Regions from separate parts of the Homo sapiens genome. Here regions 1, 2, 3, 4 and 5 are each linked to region 6. The links are contacts of gene promoters, found by promoter capture Hi-C in blood cells and fetal thymus (Javierre and others, 2016). All regions are on one chromosome and are shown on one strand. Each heading gives the region's core, a stretch centred on a gene start or on the middle of the fragment in contact. The rest is flanking DNA. Distances are from core to core; before and after follow the strand shown. Region 1 overlaps TEK (TEK receptor tyrosine kinase). Region 2 has its middle 25 kb from the start of EQTN. Region 3 overlaps EQTN (equatorin). Region 4 overlaps MOB3B (MOB kinase activator 3B). Region 5 overlaps MOB3B (MOB kinase activator 3B). Region 6 holds the start of PLAA (phospholipase A2 activating protein).

Region 1 (2,700 bases), core at 164-2,663, 270 kb before region 6:
TATTCTCACATCCTCACTGCCTATCTAACATTTACTATGAAACTCAGGATTTGACCTCCTCCAGGAAGCCCTCCTTAACTTCCTTTCAGCTTGGTTCAGTGCACCTTCTTTGTGTTCCCGTAGCATCTATGCTTTCCTTGCTCTTTGCATTTATCAGCTGTTACAATCCTGAGTCATATGTCTACGAGCTCTTTGAAGGTGGAGACTGTGTCTGACTTATGTTACCCCAAAATCTAGCACAAGCATGAAACATTGTACTAACAAATCCATGATGACGGGATGGATATATTAATCTATGATAGTGAAACCCCAAATTGCTTAGTATAGTAGTTTGCAGTAATACTTCCAGTATTAAAATCACCCTGGGTAACTTAAAAAAAAAAAAAAAAACCCTAATGCAGGGTTCTCACCCTAGACCAATTGAATCAGAATATCCACAGGATAGGACTCAATCATCTGGGGATCTTTAAAAAATGCAGATGCTTTGAAGTACAATGAGAATTGAAAATCTGATTTTAAAATTGGCTGCCAGAGAAGGTAGCCACTGTGTTCTCTAGGAGTGTCTTGCCACACTGCACCTTTCTTGCAGGGAACTTGCTCCTCTCCAATCCTTCTTTCTTCCCCCTTCCCTCAAACCTGGCCCTTTCCTCCCCAGCCCCAAGGTGCTAAAGAACACCTTTACCCTGTTTAGTCTATTGTAAGATAGAGTTGAGACCTGATAGGTGCTCTCCCCCTGTAAATAACCCCAATATTGCAGAAATCACTGCCCTTTATGAAATGCCAAGCAAACCAGTGCTAGTCTTGGGAGGCTGAGGAGAGCATCCAAATAGAATGGGTAGATTGTGGAGTTATCCTGTGTTATCCCTCCACCTTCTCACCCAGGGTACCCACATCCCCCAAGTGCTGGAGTAAAGCAGGGAAAAGGATTTCAGGAAGGAGATTTGAGGACACCAGGTGGTGAGGGAGGAGTTGGGAAAGCTGGAGTAGGTAGGTGAGTGATGGATTCTGCTTCTTTAAGAAAACAAGCCCACCCCTGCTCCAGAGAAGCATCTGCTTTGAGTATGCCTGAAAAGGTTAGGGAGAAAAGCATCACCTGGAAGCCAGCCCTCAGGGAGGCACACATGGCTTCTGAAAGTGTTGATGTTGATAAGCATGCAGGGCCCTCGAAGAGCCAAAGGGACCCAGCTTCACACCCTCATCAGAAAGGAGAGTGGAAAGATCCAAAATGATTACGTTCACTGTGGTTGTAGCTATGTAAAAGGATGTATGCTGTGAAAGGCAATAAGCCAAAATGAAAAAAATATATATGCCAAGGTGGTGAATTATGGGTGATTTCCTTTCAAAATGTTCTTGAGTATTGTTTTACTTTATCTTCTCAGTAACTAAAATAAGTATGATGGGAAAAAAAGAAGCCTGGAATTGAGAATAAATGCCGGAACCTGAGCCTTGCTAAGAGACAATTTGGTGTGCCCACAAAAGCAAAAAGATTGTCTATATCTTATGACAACTGGAGCCATCCCAGGAAAGCTGGGACCAAGTAATGTTCATCAGACCTAAAAAAGGGAGAGCCATCCACCAGAGTAGATCTGCCAGACACATGGAAAGGCTGCAGGGCTTGTCATCCCTAAGGCCCCTGCATTCTGCCCACCCAAGGAAAAGAGAGGATGGTGACATTTCATCCACACAGCTGTAACATGCAGGGATGCGGTACTTCTAGGACTATGTGATTCTAGACTGGGCACCAAAAGCAGAATGAGTATCTCTCTTCCTCTAAGACTGTATGGTTAGGTTCTCCTGCAATCTTGTACTTAAAGATAAAATATTACTGTTTGGGAGAGTGGATTTTATTTGGGTTTGAATAGTGACCATTGAGGTTTCAGTGAAGAGAGAAATCTTAGATGAGCCTGTAGAAGTTATGAATTTCTCTGTAGAGCCTCCTGGTGATTTAGAAACCATTTAGTTTGTCTTCTTGACTTTTGGAAAATATGTTAATTTTTTTCCTTGCTGTGTCAGCTGTGCATGAAAGGGGATTGTGCAAGCTCCTCAGAGGTTCCTGAGTGAGATGCCTTGGGGTCTGGACTGGATAGAACCAAGACCCCAAACCACTAGGTTTGAACATTCAATCACTTGGTCACACATGACAGTGCCTTCTTCATTATTAATTAATGCAGATGCTGCAATCATGTTAGGAACCAACATTTAGAAAGAATGTTTCCCAGGGCACACAGTATCTACTGGGACATACAGTCAGATGCTTCAGTCACCACAGAGCACTGACAGTCTCAGAAGCAACATCAGGAGACAGGGGAGTACCTCGGAAAGGATGCGATCAGTGTCTGTGTCTGGCACTTACCATTGTCTTTTTCACATACACCTCTTGACCTCGGGACAATCCAAAATCTGCTATTTTTGCCACATAGTTTTCACCAACTAAAATGTTTCTGGCAGCCAGATCCCTGTGGATAAACTGAAATTTTTGAAAACATTATGTATTTTCAGCCTAATGAAAGCCCCAGGGCTGAAAACTTTGGGGAACAGGAAAGAAAACAATAGTATAAAAAAGGATTTTAAACAGTCACAATCCAGTTCCCTTAAAGTTCCCCTCCAAAATTCCCTGGTAATGGATTCTGCCAAATGACACACCACATCTTGGCAGAAGAATTTCAGAAAACGAACAAATAAAAAACACAGGTTGTTAAA
Region 2 (2,700 bases), core at 138-2,637, 330 kb before region 6:
ATTATTAGTAGAGACGGGGTTTTGCCGTGTTAGCCAGGCTGGTCTCAACTCCTGACCTTAAAGCGATCCACCCACCTCGGCCCCCCAAGTGCTGAGATTACAGGCATGAGCCACCACTCCCAGTCAATACTTTGTTTATCTCTAAATGATACACAATAGTAGTACTATTTTGCAAGTATTTTACAATTGTTTTATCAATTATCTCAATTCATTCTTCTGAATTATACTGGAGTGGGTTATTGGGATTTTTTTGCATTTGAATGTTGTTTTCTTCCAGGTTGCATGTTTCAAACCTATAAAGGAAGTGTTGTGAAATTTTGAATTAATGATTAAACTCTAATCATCTGAGGTTAATGTCATTAAAATTTATCTTTTCTTTTCCTTGTTCATGAAAACTTCTTAGAATATTCACTCACAATGGACCTTCATCTGAATGTAGTTCTTTCAAGAGAAAACCCAACTGCAAAACCAACCAAATCGTTCATTCCTGTCAAAAGTATTGCTTCTCTTTCTGTTTAGGTATTATAAACTAAGTCTGAACACCAGAATTATATTTCATCATATCCTGCTTACATATAGAGTCCCTGGAAGAGTGGCTATATTTTTTTCTGAAGCTTTCAAATTCAGATAAATGCCAGACCCAATAGAGAAAAATGTCAACATTTTTTAGCTTACCGATGAATATAGTTATTTTCATTATGATGTAATTTGTGTCACTCTTAGATGTTTTGTTGATTCTATCCTTGGAAATAGTAGGCATTGTTTTAGACTTAAAACATCTATGGCTATGGTTAATTGAAACCTACTCAACATTTTTTAAAAGGAAAGTTTCAAGCTGTGTCCAGTGAGGGTGTATATTTGTTTATGTATATGAGACAGAGACAGCTCTTTACTAAATAATGCCATCAGTGATATGATGTTGTAGCCTTCTTTAAGTAATTCTTATTCTACTTGTGGCAGTGATTTTCCTCCCCTGTTTTCCAATTATTTTGTAGCAGAAAACCACCTGGCAGTTTTAAGGTTTTCTCCATCCCTAAAATGTCTTTGTATTACATGCAAACAATTACTGAGAAGTATGATGTTGGCTTGGTTTTATTTTTCCTCAAAGGTGAAGCAGATTAACTGATTTTAAAGTTCTCTGGGTCTTTTTATAAGTCCTTCAGAAGAAATGCTAAGAGTTTATAGCTGGGATCACTTTAATATTAAGTATACTCAAGTCACTCAGAAATTTTAAGTCCAAGCATTTTTCTTAATGATGTGCTATCAGAAAGACATTGGGATACATAGTTGAAGGATGGCAACCTACAAACTTTGCTATATTTGAATCAGAGGAGCAAATCCCAGCTTTAGGAATCTGGTTGTGGAACAGTAGTACAATTAGATGAGTGATCAGCTATCATTGCGTACGTGCAGGTAGCAGCACAGATGTGGCAGTCTCACTTCTCCATTTTGTGAGTTTAAGTAATTTTATACTTTGTGTTTATTCTACCTCTTCAACTTGACACTTGAAATTACTTTTCAATTTAATTTTGATATAACTGACCTAAGGTAGTTTTACTTCTTCCATATACTCAGTAGGAATATTAAACAGAAACATGTCTTCTTTTCTCTAATAACACTTTTATTTTTAACAAGAGGCCAAAAGATACATTTAACAAGATGGCTCATCGGAAAAGACATTCAGTAACATCAGAATTCTTATCCAAAGTACCTGATGAAGTAAGACAACGCTACATCAACCTCTTTGTTGAGAAGTATTTGAAAGTTTGTAAAACAGAGGATGAGGCTGTTTACAAGGTTGGTATTATATAATGTAATTTATCTGAAGACACACACAAAATTATTACATTGAATAAAAAACTCATGGAGCACAACTAGCAAATAACTTTATTCATTTTCTCTTCATTACATTTTCAAAACCAGGCCATGGGACTGGTTCAGTTCCTTCTTCCCTCTTGGATGACTTTTATGGTCTTTTTCAGTTACCAAAAGTCCCCTGGTTACTTCTAGGGGGTCTGGGCAGGGTGAGGACTGTCTGCTAGCTCCATCCTCTGCACAGGGGAGCCCCATGGCTCAGAAAACCTAACAAAGGAAACATGGGTACAGCAGTGGTAATAAGGGGCATGCTTGTCTTATTCCTGATCCTAGGGGGAAAGCTTTAAGTCTTTCTTCATTAAGTACAATGATAACTATGGGGTTTTTACATATAACCTTTATTAAGTTGAGACAATTCCTTTCCATTCCTAGTTTGTTGAGTGCCTCATTGTGTTAGATTTTGTTAAATGCTTTTTTCTTCATCTATTGAGCTGTCACACAGGTTTTATCCTTTATTCTATTAATATGATACATTGCATTGACTTTCTGTGTTAAACCTTACATTTATTTGATAGGTGTTCTTGGTCATGGCATATAATCTTTTTTTATACGTTGCTAGGTTACATTTCCTAGTATTCCATTGAGGATTTTTGTGTCTATATTTATCACAGATATTGTTCTGTAGCGTTTTTTGTTAGTGTCAATGACTTTTTAAAATTGCTATAAAATACACGTAACATAAAATTACCATTCTAACCATTTAAGTGTACAATTCAGTGGTATGATGTGTATTCACAATGTTATGAAACTATCACTACTATCCATTTCCAGAGCTTTTTTATCATTTCAAACAGAAATTCTGTACTCATTAAATAACTCCCCATT
Region 3 (2,700 bases), core at 74-2,573, 340 kb before region 6:
ATTTATTTATCAGTTGATGAAAATGCTGTGACCAGACTTGCAGGAATCTAACCCTGTATTTACCCTGGGAGCAACAGTTCAGTATTCGTTAATACAGTGTTTATAAGACTTTATAGAATATAACTGCCACGAATAATGAGAACAGACTGTACACACACTGGGTACTATAATTATACATACACATACATACACAGGCAATAATTTTAGTAAGTGAACGTTGTTTACCATAACCCCAATTTGTTTTAACAGCTATAAATGGAACAGCAGTGGTCATGGATGATAAAGATCAATTATTTCACCCAATTCCAGGTAAGAACAAAATATTTCAATTGACTGGGTGCAGTGGCTAATGCCTATAATCCCAGCACTTTGGGAGGCTGAGGCAGGTGGATCGCTTGAGTCCAGGAGTTCGAGACCAGCCTGGGCAACATGACAAAAACCTTTTCTCTACAAAAAATACAAAAATTAGGTGGGCACGGTGGCATGTCATTGTACTCCAGCCTGAGCGACAGAGTGAGACCCTGTCTCAACAAATGAACCAAAGTACTTCAACTAATAGACACATAAATACTCTTACACATCTTAGTGTCTTTATGATGATAATATTTTTCCTAGTGAAGTCTGGCGTATGAAAGGTGACTAACATCTCAGAGAGGACATTCACTGTTCAGGAGAGTTATAGTTCCCAAGCATTCTTTTTTAGTTATACCTCCCACATGACCATTACCACCTTCCTGTTTTGTAACATTTATTCCTGAAACCAAATGGAGGAGGTGAGTGAATAATATGTAGAATGCAGTCTTTTTTCAAAATAGACTTTATTTTTAGAGCAGTTTTGGGTTTAAAGAAAAATTTGGCAGAACGTACAGAATTTCCATATTTCACCCTCCTCAGTTTCCCCTATGTCTTGCATGATGTGGTACCTTTGTTACAATTTATGAACCAATAATAGTGATTCATTATTAATTGAAGTCCATAATTTACATCAGGATTCACTCTGTATTATACAGGTCTTTGGGTTTTGACAAATGCATAATATCACGTGTCTACCATCCCAGTATCATACGAAAGTTTCACTGCCCTAAAATCTCCTCTGCCCCATCAATTCATCCCTTTGTTCCTCTCTCCTCCTGAACCCCTGAAAACCACTGATCTTTTTACTATCGCTATAGTTTTGCCTTTTCTAGAATGTCATATAGTTGGAGTCATACAGTATGTAACCTTTTCAGACTAGCTTCTTTCACTCAGCAATATGCATTTAAGATTCCTCCATGTTTTCTTGTGGCTTGAGAGCTCATTTATTTTTATTACTGATATTCCATTGTATGAATGCACCCTAGTTCATTCTTCTACTGAATGACATCTTGGTTGCCTCCAATTTTTGGCAATTATGAAAAAAGCTATTGTAAACACTTGTGTGCAGGGTTTTGTGTGTACATAAGTTTTCGACTCATTTTGGTAAATACCTATGAATATGATTTCTGGATCATATGGTAAGAGTATGTTCATGTGCAGTGGGTGGCTTGCCTGTAATCCTAGCACTTTGGGAGGGCAAGGTGGGAAGATGAGAGTGGTTATCTTTGTAAGAAACTACCAAACTATCTTCCAAAGTATTTTTGGAATTCTCACCAGCAATCAATGTGAGCTCCTGTTGCTGGATAGAGTTTTCCTTAATGGCTTAATTATACTAATAGAGGTAAAACTCCTAATTTGAATGGAAAATTTCATGAAAGAACCACATTAATTTCCCCAAAAAAAACCTCTGTCCTACAAATAAATGGTTGAAAAATAGCATGATGATATATCTAAGACCTGTCCCCTCATTTGTGCACTGGATTGATAAGTGTGGCCATTTGCCTTGTGGCGCTTCAAGAAAATTGAGTCATTTGTCTGGGTACTGTAATCCCAGCACTTTGGGAGGCTGAGGCAGGCAGATCACCTGAGGTCAGGAGTTCGAGACAAGCCTGGCCAACATGGTGAAACCCCGTCTCTGTTAAAAATACCAAAAAATTAGCCAGGCGTGGTGTTGGGTACCTGTAATCCCAGCTACTCAGGAGGCTGAGGCAAGAGAATCACTTGAACCCGGGAGGCAGAGGTTGCAGTGAGCTAAGATTGTGCCACTGCACACTGCACTCTAGCCTGGGTGACAGAGCAAGACTCCATCTCAAAAAAAGAAAAGAAAAGAAAATTGAGTGATCCTTCTTTGTTTAGAAAAGTTATAAACAGGAATGACAAATGCTGGCTCATTTTATAAATACTGTGTCATTTCTCCTATTTAATATTTAAGTGATTAAATTCAGCTTGACTGATTTTATTGTTTATTGAGCACATACTACGTGTTAGGTGTTGTAGATACATTATTATGTTAGTCTTCACAGCAACTCCATGAAGTTGGTATTATCTTCATTTTACAGTTGAGAAAACTGAGGCTTAGAGAGAAAAGCTGCCCACGCTTGTAACTAGCTTTTCTGTCACTTCCAGTGATTACGAATTCCAAACCCTTCTCTAGTTCTGACCATCACCTAGATAAAGAAGATGTACTATGAGCACACATCTTTATTAAAAACCCTTTCAGGAGACAGAAAAGCAATTCAGGAGCACAGCCCATTTTAACGTAATTTGTTTAATTATTCCCAAAATAACAGGCCTCGAAGCATTAAAAGAGTCATTGACAACTGTATACATTTTCATAGTCTAAGG
Region 4 (2,700 bases), core at 8-2,507, 390 kb before region 6:
CACATTCCCCATATGTTTTCATCAGACACACAATAGAGGTCTTATTAAGCAATGGCAAGCTCTGTCCTGTGGTGAATTCAGCTAGGCTGAACGGCTTCTATGGAATCCTTTGTTTTCCCAGGGGAGGTAAATTCTTCCTTTAGGGACCCATGCTCTGAAAGTTCAGAATACTCCCTCCAAAAGGACAAACCGTTTGTTCAGCGTTTCTTGCATGTCATTAAGAGTTGCCCCCATTAAGCTTCTGTCAGAATAAATAAAACTCTGGTGCCTGCAACCTAACCTGGAGTTTCCGGTACTCTCTGCTTCACCGGCCAGTGCCTTCCCTCCCACTCCTGATAGAAAGGCCACATGACAGAAGCAAATGTGAGAATTCCTTCCCCTGCCCTCCCGCATCCAGCCTTTAAGGAACTGCACAACCCTACAGGGGGCATTGGGCCATGCTGAAATCTGTTTCATTCCTCAAAGCGGGTGGGTGCACTCAGTCACCCTTTGCTCATCCCAGAACAAGGGGCAGCAGCAGCATCTGCCAGAAACCAATCCAGCTGCGCTGACAAATGCTGGGTATGAGAAGGAGGGAGGCAGACTCCTGCCAACTGTGCAGACCTCCATGGGGGCTCTGGAGAAGTTGGGTAACAGAGGAGGAAAGGAGCGGGGAGCAGCAGCCAAATGTCAGAGATCTCAGTGTCGCTTTGAGCAGAAATCACAGGCTCCTTTGATCACAGGTAGCATCAGTCTGAGCAGAAATCAGGTTGGATCCCCTGTCCCATCAGTGCATCAGCCAGGTTGATACAGGTGGGAAGGACATGGTAGGTGGATCCACAGAGCAAGACAGGGTGCTAAAAAAAAAGCACAGAGTTGCAGAATGAGGGGTGGGCTGCGGGGCTCTAGGGAGGGGATCTGCAGAGATACAGTGACCACAAACAGTTTTGATTAATGCTCTTGCTTTCACGATGCACTATGAGGCAACCCACCATGTGTCCGTAACCCATCTCCTGTGGTTAAATGAGAGAACTTCAAAAATGTGCAGCTCTGTCTTTATAAGAAACAATGTAAATCAGGAGGCTGAATATGTTTACATAAAGTGACTTATTTTTAATGTTTGCAGGGTTTGGAAAAAGAAGAGCAGTTTGATTTTTGTATCGGTATGAATAAATATTCTCCGTGGGTGGCGAGTGTGTGTGTTTATCTAGCCATACATATGTATATGTGCACTTGGGAGCCTGCACATATGTGCACACATTCACACACACGCACCCCTCCATCGTGGAAACGCCCTCCGTGTCAGTAATGTGGGCTGTTGTTTAGGAACAGAATTAATCAAATAAATATTGTTCTGTGTGGTTTAGGGAAGTCTGGCCTGCCTTGTTTCTATTTTTATTTCGTTTGGCTTATTTGCCACCCACATTCCTAAAAGAGAGCAGAAAGAACATTTCTAATTCCTGTGTGCTGGTTGGATCCTGTATATACTTAGAGTTGGGGAAATTTTAAAAATATTTTTGTAGACTGGCTGCCCTGCCTGCTTTATAAGAATTCAGACTTTGGGATGCTAGCAAAGGAAGAACAGCAGCCCTGGCTGTGGGCCTCCTGGGAACGGTCCTGCCAGCCGAGTCCCTACTCCCGTGGCCCATGCTGGTGTGGTACAGCCGCTGATTCAGAGACTCAACTGAAACAGCACATGTAGATATGAATGAAGATATATTCAGCACGATGGCTCAGGATATAGTAGACTGGTTAGGAGGATGGGTTTTCAAGTTTCAACCTTGGCCAGGGTAATTATTAGTGATGTGGCCATGGCCGAGGTACTTAACCTCCATTACCCCTCTGTAAAATAAGAATGATACCACATACCCCATAAGACTGATGTAAGGATTGAATGAAATGATGTCCAGCATTGAGCACAGTGCCTGGCACACAGAAAAGGTGCAGGAAATGATAGAAACTACTCCATTCGGAACACAAGACACTTTGGTTAATGATGGCTCTCTTATCACTGCCCCATCTTGTTCACTCTGACTCTTGTGACCTGGCACGGCTTCATTCATTCATTCGTTCACTTCTCAAGTTATTTATACCAATAAAGCCTAGTTCCAAAATAAATTTGGGGTGGCTGATGTCAGCCCCTACTGGAATTCTCTCTCCCAGATGCTCTGAAACAGACACAACAACGTTACAAAAAAATAGTTCCTAAAAAAATGTTTAGGCCTCATGCCTGAACCTCGCCTAAGGATTCCACCATTGACTCCTGGTCCCTTTACCCTCCTCTGAAAACAAGCTTCCAGGCAGGAAGCTCCACCAGCTTGACCACTGCAGAAAAGGCCTTGAGGGCAAGAACGAAGTCCCCTGAGCCTAGGGGGAGTGCATGGCAGGGAGACTCTCCCCGAGGGTTCCCAGGGATCCCTAACTTGCAGCACTCCCTCCACAGCCTCACACAAACAGCTGGGAATGGTCCGGGAAAGCAGATTAAGCAGCCCTGGACTCACCCTCACTCTGCACCAAGGATGCAACTGAGGGCTCCTTAGAAAGTCATGCCCCAGGAGGCCCCACTTGTGGAGTTACCTGCCTGTCCACCGGAGTCGGGGTGGGAGGGGTCCTTCCCCTGGAGTTGCCAAGGCATTTGGGAAAAGGCCAGTGTTATTTCCTCTGATACATACAGCTATTTGGATTCTAGAAAGCTAAAAGAGAAACACCACAGGAAGTGGG
Region 5 (2,700 bases), core at 125-2,624, 420 kb before region 6:
CCGACCTCAGGTGATCTGCCCACCTTAGCCTCCCAAAGTGCTGGGATTACAGGCCTGAGCGACCGCGCCCAGCCAGGACCCTCCTTTTTAAAGGCACTAATCCCATTCATGGGGTGTCTGCCTTCATGACCTAATCACCTCCCAAAGGCCCCACCTCCTAGTACCATCAGCCTGGGAATTAGGATTTCAACACGTGCATTTGAGGGGGGCATAAGCATTCAATCCGTTGCATTCAATAATTACATATGGAGAACCACCGTGTTCTGCTATGCATTCGATGCCAGGGCTATGACTATGAACAAGAAAGATCCCTGACATTACACAATTTTCAGTCTCCTGGGAGACAAAAAAAAAAAAAAAAAAAGGACAATTAAAAGTTGATGTGGTAGTATTGTCATGGAAGAAGCAGCGGGTGTTATGATATGCCTACCTAGACTGAGGGTGAGGTGGCCAGGGAGGACGTTCTAGAGGAAGTGACAAATTAGTTAAGGTTTGAATAACAAATGGGAGTTAGTCAGGCGAAATGGAGAAGCTGAGGAAGAGGTTTCCAGCTACCAACCCTCCAGTATGTAGCAACGCCCAGAAGCAAGTGAGAAAGAGGATCGTAGCTTCAGATGGCTGGAGTATTACATGCAAGTTGGGAGAATCCAGAAATGATGGTGGACCACTGCATGTGTGAAATCATAAAGGGTCTTGCCTGCATGTTAAATAGCTTTGATTTCACCTTGGAAGCAGTAGGAGGCTGCTTTAGAGTTTTATGCAGAAAAACAGGCTTCCTGGTTAGATTTGCGTATTGGGAAGGTCCTTCACCTGCCAAGTGGAGATTGAAGAAATGCAGGAGTAAAGAAAGGAAGCTTAGTTACAAGGGACCTGCATAAACTAGGCAGGAGGTGAGCTAGGAAGGAGGCAGTGGGGCTGAAGAGAAATTTAGAGATCAGCAACTGTTCAAGACAAGACTTGGTGTTAATTGTCCCCACATAATGGAAGAAAGATTCTACTGGGGAATAAAGAATAGTTTTATTTGTGAGGATACTCACAATATTACATCCATGACAAAGAACCTGGCTTTCAAATTCTGGTTGGGGCTCATGAAAAAAACCAGAAGGTGTGGTAGTCCTAGACCTATATTCCTGATCAAACTCCTGGTACCTCAGCCTGACTTTCCAGAACCAATGAAGTTCATTAACATCCTGTTCTCAGCTCTGGCTCATTTGTCCCATTTGATTTTCAGCAAACTGGTCAGGTTTACACGGTCTAGGGTTTGTTTCTAATGGCTTTTATTGTCAATCCACAGTGAATATCTTTCACGGGTTATCTTGGGTCTTTCTTAATCTACTGCTCCTTTCACATCCATGCTGTGAAAGCAGGGGACAAAGGCAGCCATCTGGGAGCTGGGGATGCTGATGAGCAACTCAGAAGTGGCGCTCAGGGGTAGGAGGAGGTGTGACGAGCAGGCACGCTGGACTCATGGTTGCTCCTTGGGGTGGCTGAAACAGCACTTCCTATGCCCAGCACATGGCATGTCTGAAAGAATTAAGACTCTCTTGAGAACATATAATCACATACCACTGTTTGTCTTTCTTTTGGCCCAACCACCATGATAACAGACTGGAGGACAGCACAAAGGGGCTGGGGAGGGGCAGAGGGAGGGAGTTGGAAAACAGAGTAGTAGCCAGTTTATTTCTAAGCATTTGCAGCTGTCAGCTTGTTTGGGGACTTTGTTTTCTCTTTTTTTAGGCAGAGGAACAAAGTCCTGCTACACAGGATTGTTTTCCTTGGCATGACGAACAGACACTTTCTTGAGGAACGTACTGAGATAACACAAAACATCTGCTAAGAGGAATCAATCCTCGCAGCTGAATTTTCATCAGCATCAGCAAGAACACGAAGCTTCTCTCTCTCTCCCTCTCTGTATGTGTGTGTGTGTGTGTGTGTGTGTGTGTGTGTATGTATGTGTGTGTATATATATGTATATGTATGTATATATATAGACAGAGAGCAGGAGGCAGGAGAATGGATGGATGAAGGGGCAAGAGAATAAGCTAAGAGGAGGAGGATATATATTATTAAGAAACATCTGTGTTGTTCATGTGTTTTGTTTTGTTTTGTTTTGTTTTTGCCTTGTGATCCGATTGCATCTTGTTTTGCAAGTATTTTGGAAATGGTGTGTTCTCAGCCACGCTGCCAGAGGAGGTATGTTTTCTTTTTCCACGTGTGTGGGATGTTGTTTTTATTCATGAACTATTGAGAATGAGTGGTTTTTATGACTTGTAGAGGGATTTTCACATCCCTCTTATTACTGGACTCTGAAGACAGAAGGGACAGCACAAATGCCCTCAGACATGAATAACAGTTTCAAGGAGAAACATGGGCACTTCTGGTTGTTGTTGACATGCCATCAGGGGTCCCAAAGGATTGGCCAGGAAATCAGGTTTCATCATATGTCCTTTGGAAGCTCCTTGGACAGTTCACATGCTCTTCCAATATATGACATGTCTTCCAAGTATACTTTCCAAGAAGAGTTTATCCTTTGGAGAAGAGGCAGCTTCACCTGTCCTGTTTCATTTGCCCTCCTGCCACCCCTGTCTTGGCATTGATTCAGAAGAGCCGTCTTCCTAGCGTTGGTAACATCGGCTGCCATTTGCCAGATGCCTTCTGTGTGCCTGCTGGTGCTGTGCTTCTCATTTAGTCCTTGTGGTC
Region 6 (2,700 bases), core at 9-2,508:
CACTCCGTCTCAAAAAAAAAAAAAAAAAAAAAAAAAAAAAAAAAAAAAAAATAATGGAAAGCCATCACAGGTTGTCAAACAGAGAAAAAACAATTAAGTGTATATTTCAGAAAGATAATTATATTTTAATGTGTAGGATTGGCTGGAGAGAAGGGGTAGAAAGGCCAGAGAAATGTTGAAATAATTTAAGTAGGACTAATTGGTACAGATTTCTAACAGATAGCTAGAAATACAGATCTAGAGTTTGGAGAAGACAATATGGGAATACAGCTCTAGAAATAAGCCAAGTAGTAAATAATCCACCCAGGGAGGGGATATGATAGCAAAGAAGTATCAAAAGTCAGCATTTCAAGAATGATCTCCCAAACCAGGGGAAAAGTGATTCCAAACCTAGAGTAGGAGTTTTAGGAAGGGAGAAGTCAGAAAAGTGTGAATTGGGCTTAGCAATTTAGAAAGGTTTGTGGAAAAGTGTAGTTGGATGCGAGAGAATAGCGGATGGGAAGAAAACAAAGTAAGGAGACAGGTCATGTTTACCCTGGCACTCAATAAGGTCTGATAATGACTAGCAAGTAGCACCACGGGTGGGTGGGCGGCGGGGTTGTTAAAAATACGTATCTCAGCTCTAACTCAGACCTACTGAATCAGAATCTACATTTTAACAAGCCGCCAGAGAAAAGTAGTTATACCTTTAAAAAATTGACTTGGACCACCGTATTTGCTAAATTTGACAACAGAGAGTAGGAGATTCAGATAACTTGAAACGGAGGAATAGTTCAATGATTAATAGTTCCCAATTTGGCCTCAAGCTTTCTCGTTTTAATTGAAAAACAAGGTTAACTTGCAAAAACCTCGAGATTCTCAGGGAAAAGCAGTGAGGATGACCTAACAGTAGACACCAAACAACCTCACTCAGCCATTCCGCCATGCCCAGCGCGAAAGACTCAGGTTTAAAATATCCGGATTCGGCGCGCCGGATGTCCACGCCAGCTGGCGCGGCATTATGGGAATTGTAGTCCCGGCCCGCTTCCCGATTTACCACAAACTGTTGGGCCCGGAGTCGGAAGAGACCCGGGTTTGGGAAGGACCCCAGGGTCAGGCGTCCTGGTGGAAGGGCGGGCCTCTTTCTCTCTTGCTCAGCAGGGAGTCCAGAGCCCTGGAGGAAAGCCAGCTCAGCTCCGCATCGGCGTCGGCGGTTGGGACGCACACACTCTGCGTCATGGAGGGCTGAGGCCGATGATGAATTCCGGAGTGCCTGTCAGGCTTGCTGTGTCACTCGGCCCGCTCGGCGCGCCCCTTCCCAGCCGCCCTTCCGTACCGGCTCTCGGGCTCTTCCGGTCTCCGGCCGCCCCTTACCTGCAGGCTCTTCTCCCGCCGCGGCCCGGCGCTCTCCGAGTCGCCCCTGCGGACTGGTCTCGCACAGTGCCTGGGCACCGGGCGCCAGACAGACACTGGCCATGACGAGCGGCGCAACCAGGTACCGGCTGAGCTGCTCGCTCCGGGGCCACGAGCTGGACGTACGGGGCCTGGTGTGCTGCGCCTATCCGCCGGGAGCCTTTGTGTCCGTGTCCCGAGACCGCACCACCCGCCTCTGGGCCCCAGACAGGTGAGCGCTGGGAGTCGGGTTGCCCCGGCTGTGTTGCACGCTTCCCGGAGAGTGGAAGGAGAGTGACCCTTCCCTGTCAGTCCTGCCGTCTCTCTCTCCCCCCAGCCTTCCCTCTGCTCTCCGCTCCCTTCCAATTCTCAGACTATTAGAACTCTGTAAGAAACCATCGGGATTTAAGTGGAAAGAGCACAGGGTTGGGGGACCAAAGACCTGCCTTGTTGTGCTAACTTGACCACAGACGAGTCTCCTACCTTTTGGGCCTTCAGTTTTTGGACGATGATCTCCCAAGTTTCTTTTAGACTTGAAAATTTACTGATTGCAGTTGCACCCTCCGAAGTGAGGTAGTTTGAAGGCATCTGAAATGTCCTCTTTTTTTTTTTTTTTCGAAGAAGATGCTCTGTAGTCTTCTGTAAAATTTAATTTTTGAAGACTTTAGTTCTCAAAAATTGCACTGGTGAATCCTCTTTTCGTCCAGGTTAGAATTTTAGTCTGTGGTCTGTGCTGGTCCTGAGGGAGTGAAACCTCTCGGATGTTTTGTTTCTGTGCATGTGCTGTTTCTTGAGGAGAAGCAGCATCCATTGCCTTCAAAGGATTTATCAGAAGGGTTCACGAACCAAAAAAAAAAAGAAGAAAAAGGTTAGGAATCAGTCCTGATCGAGTTCACGGGTTCAGCCCTGATTTGGCTGGTTGTAACAGGATATTTAAGACCTAGAAGACAGATTGCAGTTCAGAGAAAGAAAAATTGAGGTTAGTTATTTTGTTATTTAGTAGGTCTCCCACTGCTAGAGATTTTAGAATTTGAGTCACCATCCATAAATTCAGTTGATAACTGTTGAGTGCCTCCTCTTTGTTTGGGATACTGGAGAGGAATAAAGACAGACAAGTTGCCAGTGTTTCTGGAGCTTTCTTACAGTCTGATGGGGAAGATAGATTAAAAAACAAGCCAATAAATAATTAAAAACTGGCATGTGAAGAAAACATACAGTTAATTAGGTGGAGAGATATATTAAAGGAAGCCTCTCTGAGGAGTTGTTTGTTTAAAGTTGACATTTGAAGCATGAGATGGATGGAGCTGGTCGTGGAAGAGCAAATAGGGA

What was found. Contacts are between HindIII fragments. The CHiCAGO score rates a contact against its expected background, and 5 or more counts as called.
Region 1: a contact is called between a fragment that was not itself captured here and the fragment with the promoter of PLAA in region 6, in 1 of 17 cell types (megakaryocytes). The highest score is 5.5, in megakaryocytes.
Region 2: a fragment that was not itself captured here is called in contact with the fragment with the promoter of PLAA in region 6 in 2 of 17 cell types (megakaryocytes and endothelial precursors); the score reaches 6.9 in megakaryocytes.
Region 3: a contact is called between a fragment that was not itself captured here and the fragment with the promoter of PLAA in region 6, in 1 of 17 cell types (endothelial precursors). The highest score is 5.3, in endothelial precursors.
Region 4: a fragment that was not itself captured here is called in contact with the fragment with the promoter of PLAA in region 6 in 1 of 17 cell types (total B cells); the score reaches 5.5 in total B cells.
Region 5: a contact is called between a fragment that was not itself captured here and the fragment with the promoter of PLAA in region 6, in 1 of 17 cell types (total B cells). The highest score is 5.4, in total B cells.

Annotation. Positions count from the first base shown.
Region 1 is chr9:27,213,251-27,215,950 of GRCh38, reverse strand. TEK (TEK receptor tyrosine kinase) reads right to left here. Exons shown (of 23, transcript NM_000459.5): 18 at 2,354-2,467. Among named protein-coding and RNA genes, the nearest start is that of EQTN, 83 kb to the left of the region's middle. The HindIII fragment of the contact is 4,902 bases long and covers 1-2,700 here.
Region 2 is chr9:27,271,024-27,273,723 of GRCh38, reverse strand. It overlaps the pseudogene REXO6P. Among named protein-coding and RNA genes, the nearest start is that of EQTN, 25 kb to the left of the region's middle. The HindIII fragment of the contact is 1,542 bases long and covers 617-2,158 here.
Region 3 is chr9:27,287,281-27,289,980 of GRCh38, reverse strand. It overlaps EQTN (equatorin), which reads left to right. Exons shown (of 8, transcript NM_020641.3): 6 at 250-309. Among named protein-coding and RNA genes, the nearest start is that of EQTN, 8.5 kb to the left of the region's middle. The HindIII fragment of the contact is 2,863 bases long and covers 1-2,700 here.
Region 4 is chr9:27,338,750-27,341,449 of GRCh38, reverse strand. The region is part of intron 3 of MOB3B (MOB kinase activator 3B); the gene reads left to right. Among named protein-coding and RNA genes, the nearest start is that of EQTN, 43 kb to the right of the region's middle. The HindIII fragment of the contact is 2,034 bases long and covers 241-2,274 here.
Region 5 is chr9:27,367,601-27,370,300 of GRCh38, reverse strand. The region is part of intron 2 of MOB3B (MOB kinase activator 3B); the gene reads left to right. Among named protein-coding and RNA genes, the nearest start is that of EQTN, 72 kb to the right of the region's middle. RefSeq lists enhancers at 1-466, 467-1,220. The HindIII fragment of the contact is 1,036 bases long and covers 857-1,892 here.
Region 6 is chr9:26,945,800-26,948,499 of GRCh38, reverse strand. It overlaps PLAA (phospholipase A2 activating protein), which reads left to right and starts at 1,258. Exons shown (of 14, transcript NM_001031689.3): 1 at 1,258-1,603. The coding sequence starts at 1,455. It also overlaps a transcript of IFT74 not described here. RefSeq lists enhancers at 935-1,244, 834-1,507, 1,505-1,764, 1,508-2,183. The HindIII fragment of the contact is 3,001 bases long and covers 809-2,700 here.